2 separate regions of the Homo sapiens genome follow, and region 2 is linked to region 1. The links are contacts of gene promoters, found by promoter capture Hi-C in human tissues and cell types (Jung and others, 2019). All regions are on one chromosome and are shown on one strand. Each heading gives the region's core, a stretch centred on a gene start or on the middle of the fragment in contact. The rest is flanking DNA. Distances are from core to core; before and after follow the strand shown. Region 1 holds the start of KLHDC7A (kelch domain containing 7A). Region 2 has its middle 78 kb from the start of KLHDC7A.

Evidence for each region. The method cuts DNA at HindIII sites, captures the fragments that hold promoters and counts their contacts. A contact is called where the count stands out against the background at its distance.
Region 2: a contact is called between a fragment that was not itself captured here and the fragment with the promoter of KLHDC7A in region 1, in 3 of the 25 tissues and cell types used here (liver, stomach and thymus).

What each region holds. Positions count from the first base shown.
Region 1 is chr1:18,479,413-18,482,712 of GRCh38, forward strand. It overlaps KLHDC7A (kelch domain containing 7A), which reads left to right and starts at 1,518. Exons shown (of 1, transcript NM_152375.3): 1 at 1,518-3,300. The coding sequence starts at 1,570. RefSeq lists enhancers at 596-1,468, 1,469-2,340. The HindIII fragment of the contact is 16,937 bases long and covers 1-3,300 here.
Region 2 is chr1:18,401,447-18,404,639 of GRCh38, forward strand. No RefSeq gene overlaps it. Among named protein-coding and RNA genes, the nearest start is that of KLHDC7A, 78 kb to the right of the region's middle. The HindIII fragment of the contact is 5,671 bases long and covers 1-3,193 here.

The sequences.
Region 1 (3,300 bases), core at 268-2,767:
CCCGGTTTGCTAGGCAGTGATCAGGAGATGCATCTGGAAGAGTAAACCGAAGCTGGTACACAGAGAGTTGTGAACGTCGGCATAGGGAGTCAGGATTGTCTCCTAGAGTCAAAGCCTTCAGAGCCAAATTCCTCCCATGCGTGTGCTTCCTGTGGCCCACAGTGTTTTTCAGTTTCATTTTTGAATCAGATGCCAACATTTTAAAATTGAGAGTGATTATGTCACTACTGGGATTCTAAGCTTTTTGCGACAGTGGGAGGATGAGGCAATGCTGGGCCTGATACCATCGGCTGGGGTGGGGCGGACAGACGTCCTTACTTGTTCACTTTACCTACCCAGCCTCCATATGCAGCAAGAGTTTGAGACCCCTGCACAGGACTTTGGGGACTCTTTGAGGACCTTGGTCAGGAGAAGGGTAGAATTAGTTCTGTGCTTTGGAAGGTCCTCTGATGACAATTGATACTAGCGATGATGGTGCCGATGATCAGAAAGAGGAAAAGGAGGAAGAAGCAGAGAATAGTTCATATTTACTAAGCTTTCATGATGGGGGCTCTGCCCCAGTGTTTATTCCTAGTAGCCCATTTAGTTCTCCCCACAAGCTGATGAGGTGCGTATGCTGTCATCCTCCTTTTTCAGACAAAGCACAGAGCGGTGAGGTCTCTTGCCTAAGGTCATATAGTTGGTAAGTAGCAGAGCCAGGTAGTCTGGGTCCAGGACCCACAGCACTGGTGATGGGGGAGGGGAAATGGTGAGGGGGGGTCTGGGAGACGTGAGTCTTCCCTCAATCTTTCACCGTAGGAGATTGTCTGGTTTTAAAAGAGAAGATGTGTCCACATCTAACCCCGATCTGAGCACTAATGCAATGTCTTTCTCCACTGTTCTCAGAAAGGCTGGTTTTTCTTAATAAACTTGTCAGGCAGGGAAGGAGGGCAGAGGCACTCAAGGGCCGGCTCAGGTGGCTTGGCTGCATGCCCTGGCTCCAGACTCCACTGCCATGTTCCCGTTCCCTGCTTGGCCAGCATAAAGTTGACCCCACTGTGAGGACCAGCAGACCTCACAAGAATGACCCCATCCACGCCTACTGGGGCTCCACCTGCCCATGACTCACCACACCCAAGCCTCTGAGCCCAGTGGACTTGCAAAAGAGAAAATAAAGCACACACATAAAGAATAACCAACCCCATGCATTTCCTGGCATCGGGTGACTGTTTGGTTAAGAGCTTCCTCCTCTTTTGTATGCCCACTGGATACTCCTAACATCCCCTAGCTGCTGACCACAGAGCTGGCTTAGGTGGCTGATCACAAGCTCAGCCCCTGGGCGGGCCCCCCACCCCAGCCACCAGGGAAGCATGGAAGGAGGCCAGCCGCTGGGATCTGCCAGCTCTGGGCCCCAGCGGCCACCCTCTGCAGCTCAAAGTCACCTTTGCTCCTCTCCTCTCCTCGGCTGGCCAGCCAGAACCAGCCCAGAACTCCCTCCCCTCCGCTCAGCAGGACCCAGGAACTGGTCCCTACTGGGCAATTATTAATCAGATTCTTGACATTCCTCAGCCCCAGGTTGGCTGGAGAAGCATGTTCCCCAGAGGAGCAGAGGCCCAGGACTGGCATTTGGATATGCAGCTGACCGGCAAGGTGGTGCTGTCAGCCGCTGCCCTGCTCCTGGTGACTGTGGCCTACAGGCTGTACAAGTCGAGGCCTGCCCCAGCCCAGCGGTGGGGTGGGAATGGCCAGGCAGAAGCCAAGGAGGAAGCAGAGGGCTCAGGGCAGCCTGCTGTACAGGAGGCTTCTCCTGGGGTGCTCCTGAGGGGGCCAAGACGTCGGAGGAGCAGCAAGCGGGCTGAAGCACCACAGGGCTGCAGCTGTGAGAATCCAAGAGGCCCCTATGTCCTGGTCACGGGGGCCACTTCCACAGACAGGAAGCCCCAGAGAAAAGGCTCAGGTGAGGAGCGGGGCGGGCAGGGCTCGGACTCTGAGCAGGTGCCTCCTTGCTGCCCCAGCCAGGAAACCAGAACAGCTGTTGGCAGTAACCCTGACCCTCCCCATTTCCCCCGCTTGGGCAGCGAACCGAAGAGCTCCCCAGCTGGACTCATTGCAGCAGCCGACGGCAGCTGTGCCGGTGGTGAGCCTTCTCCATGGCAGGACAGTAAACCCCGTGAGCATCCAGGACTGGGGCAACTAGAACCTCCCCACTGTCACTACGTGGCTCCCTTGCAAGGCAGCAGTGACATGAACCAGAGCTGGGTCTTCACCCGTGTGATAGGGGTCAGCAGAGAAGAGGCTGGGGCTCTCGAGGCTGCCTCCGATGTTGACCTGACCCTGCATCAGCAGGAGGGCGCCCCCAACTCCTCCTATACCTTCTCATCCATAGCCCGCGTCCGAATGGAGGAGCATTTCATACAGAAGGCGGAGGGGGTTGAGCCCCGGCTCAAGGGCAAGGTGTACGACTACTATGTGGAATCTACCTCTCAGGCCATCTTCCAGGGCAGGCTGGCTCCCAGGACAGCAGCCCTGACTGAGGTTCCATCCCCTAGGCCACCGCCAGGGTCCCTGGGAACAGGGGCTGCCTCGGGAGGCCAAGCCGGTGACACAAAGGGTGCAGCCGAAAGAGCCGCCTCCCCGCAGACAGGGCCGTGGCCCTCCACCCGAGGCTTCAGCCGGAAGGAGAGCCTTCTGCAGATAGCGGAGAACCCAGAGCTGCAGCTGCAGCCAGATGGCTTCCGGCTCCCCGCTCCACCCTGCCCAGACCCGGGCGCCCTGCCTGGCTTAGGCAGAAGCAGCCGGGAGCCCCATGTGCAGCCGGTGGCCGGGACCAATTTCTTCCATATCCCGCTCACCCCTGCTTCAGCCCCACAGGTCCGCCTGGATCTGGGCAATTGCTATGAGGTGCTGACCTTGGCCAAGAGGCAGAACCTGGAGGCCCTGAAAGAGGCGGCCTACAAGGTGATGAGCGAAAACTACCTGCAGGTGCTGCGCAGCCCGGACATCTACGGGTGCCTGAGCGGGGCAGAGCGCGAGCTGATCCTGCAGCGCCGGCTCCGGGGCCGCCAGTACCTGGTGGTGGCTGACGTGTGCCCCAAGGAAGACTCCGGCGGCCTCTGTTGCTATGACGATGAGCAGGATGTCTGGCGCCCGCTGGCTCGCATGCCCCCCGAGGCCGTGTCCCGGGGCTGTGCCATCTGCAGTCTCTTCAATTATCTCTTCGTGGTGTCCGGCTGCCAGGGGCCCGGGCACCAGCCCTCCAGCCGCGTCTTCTGCTACAACCCGCTCACGGGGATCTGGAGCGAGGTGTGCCCGCTGAACCAG
Region 2 (3,193 bases), core at 518-3,017, 78 kb before region 1:
CTTCCAAGAAGAGGTAAAGACTGAACCAGGCTAGGGAAGTCCTGGAGGATTGGGTGGTATATAGTGAACTATGGCCTCTATTATGCCCACCAAACCTCAGTGATATACAATAAAAAGCATTTTTTTGTTTTCTTGAGACAGGGTCTCGCTTTGTCACCTGAGCTGGAGTGCAATGACACAAACATGGCTCACTATAGCCTTGACTTCCTGGGCTCAGCAATCCTCTCACCTCAGCATCCCAAGTAGTTGGGACTACAGGCATGCACCACCATGCCCTACTAATTTTTGTATTTTTTGTAGAGACAGGGTTTCACCATGTTGCCTAAACTGATCTCAAATACCTGGGCTCATGCAATCCACCAGCTTTGACTTCCCAGAGTGCTGGGATTACAGGTGAGAGCTACCACGCCCAGCCTTCAAAAAGCATTTATTGAGCTCCCACATCTGCAGGTTGGCTGGGGAGCTCTGCTCTGGGCTGGACTCCTCTTGGGCAGCTGGACCAGGGCAGCTGTGCTCCATATGTTTCTCATTCTGCTTCTAGCTGGCTAGCTCGGGCACATTCTCCAGCAACTACAGCAGAGGGCCAGTGGAACCATGCAAGGCGTCTCCAGTCCCAAACTCAGAATTAGGCTCACTGCCTCACTTTGTTTTATTGGCCAAAGCCAGTCACATGGCCAGGTTCACAGTCAGAGGGTGAGAAATGCTCTCTGTCTACTAGTGAGAGGCAATGCAAAATCACATGGCCAAGGGCACAGATACCCGGAGAGCTGAAAAAGAGAGACAAGGGCCAGTCCAGGCCTGTTATGGGATGGGAAGACCCTGTACAGATGAGTTATGAGGGTCCTTCAGGCTCCCAGGACTTTTAGAGCATCATTCACTCATTCACTCATTTGTTCAGTGAGCAGTATTCATGGTGCACTTGCTGTGTGCTGGTCCTGTTTTAGTGCTATGTAGACAACTTGAGTAAAACGAGACAAGGTCTCAACCCTCGGGATAAAGAAGAGGTTCCACTTCTTTTTTCTGGCTCTTCCACCCACTTTCTCTGTGACCTTGGGAAAATCACCTCCCCTCTCAGGGCATGGCAGCCACTGCTAATAATACCTTACATTTGTAGAACACTTTTAACTTTATCAAAACGTCTTCACATGCGTTCTCTGTGAAGCATCGGAGACCGGTTTTATTACATCTCTGATTTGACAAGTGAAACTCTAATGGATATAAAATGCACTGAGCTCCTTGGAAGTGCTCTCTTGAGAGGGCTCGGTGGGGCAAAACCCCTTATAACAAACCCTAGGATTCTCTCTCTACAACAAAGCGGGTCCCTGGGTATCTGCTGACGGTTGTCATTTCAAACAATGTTTGGGGCCACACAATCCCTGTGTGACCCAAGGACTGGGATGGCTTCCTTTATCTTTCCTTTTATTTTAAAAAGCCACCACTCTGAACATTTCAAAGATTCCTGCAGAACTTTGCCAATTTAATTTAAAAGAAAAAAATAAAAAGATTGCCTCCTCCTAACTGGCTTCACAAATGAAAATGGGATGTAAGCCAGGCCTCAGAGAACAGCCTAATCACTCCAGCTCCTCATTTAATAACCTCAGGAAACCAGGCTGCGCATTTTACGAGGAGAAAAGAGAGACAGAAGCAGCCCTTCCTCCCTGTCCCATCAAGTCAATCTCAGCCCTCGGATCTGGGGTTAAACACAAAGACAGCCTCCTTTGCCGAGGATACATGTGCTGCATCTTATAATCCTGCCTCTCCTTATGCCAGTCCTGTAAGGCATGAGCACCATTTCACAGGTAAGTAAAGTGAGGTTCAGCAAGACAGCAAGTCACACTAATAAGAGCTAATAAGAAGTTGAGCTGGGTTTGAGCTGAAATCCCTTTGAACCCAAATGCCACGTTCTTTGCTCCTTCCCCACACCACCTCTTTGCTATGTGGGGTGGTTTCATATTGCAGGGGACCTGATACCAGGTTTAGTGAATGCAAAAGGAAAGAAGGAAATGGAGAGGGAAGAAAGGAAGTGGGGGAAGGGAGGAAGGAACGAAGGTAGGACAATATTTATGGTGTGGCTACCATGAGCCCAGCACTATTAAAAGCTGACCTCCATGTGTGATGTGCCATAATTGAAGAAAAAGGCACCCTGGAGACACAGAGGAGGAGCCCCCAGTGTGGCCTGGGGGGAAGGCTTACCAGTGAAGATGCTATTGATGGATGAATCAGGAAGGAGCCAGGAGCAAAGGTAGGGCTGGAAGGTCAGAACGAGCCCTTGTTGGGCTCCTTGATCAAGGCCTACTGACTTCACCTCCTCAGTATCTCTTGGATCCACCTATGTCTGTCCATCTCCACACCCACCCAAGTCTGTGCTTTGTCTGGACTGTGAGATGCCCTCCTCCCCTGCCTTCTGCCTCTGCTCCTCCAGACCTTTCTCTACAAAGCAGCCAGAGTGGTCTTTCCTAAAGCAAATCAAACAAAGCCTCCTTCTCTAACTCAACCTTTCCTTGGCTCTCCATTTGCTCTGGGGAGCCGTACTGGGGGTCTCTAAGGTCCTACATGTCCCAGGTCTCACTTTGTACTGCACTCTCCTTCCCCTCTAGACTCCAGTCACATGGGCCTGGGCACAGGGGCCTGGTGCTGATCTTTCTGCCCAGGGATGTCTGGCTGCCCCTGTTCACCTGGTTAATTTCTACAAATCCTTTAGCTTCAAGTCAACTTTACACTTCATCCATTCTTACATCCAATGATTATTTATGGCACACCTAGGCACTGTTCTAGATGGTGGCAGTCCAGGTGTCTGTCTTCATGAAGCTTAGTTGTTAGAAGCAGAACCTTCCAGGGTGAAGCCTTCTCTGATTATTCTCAGAGCCAGGTGACTGTAGCAGGCGCTATTGGTGCTCCGTCCCAACAACTCAGCCCACCCGGAAGTTGCCTAAGGCTCTGATAAACAGTTCTCATACCCCGAGATGATGTCCTGCCTCAAAATAGGATATCTCTCTGACTGAAGGCTTTCTCTGGACATACAAATCCAAGTGCAGGGCCAGCCAGGAACACCTGGGAGTTAACACCCCCAGAACAACCCACAACAATAAAGGATAGGAATTGGTGAGTGTATCAGTTATCTATTGCTGCATAATAAACACTAAACTTGACGGCTTATCATAGCAATCATATATCTGCTCATGACTCTGCAATT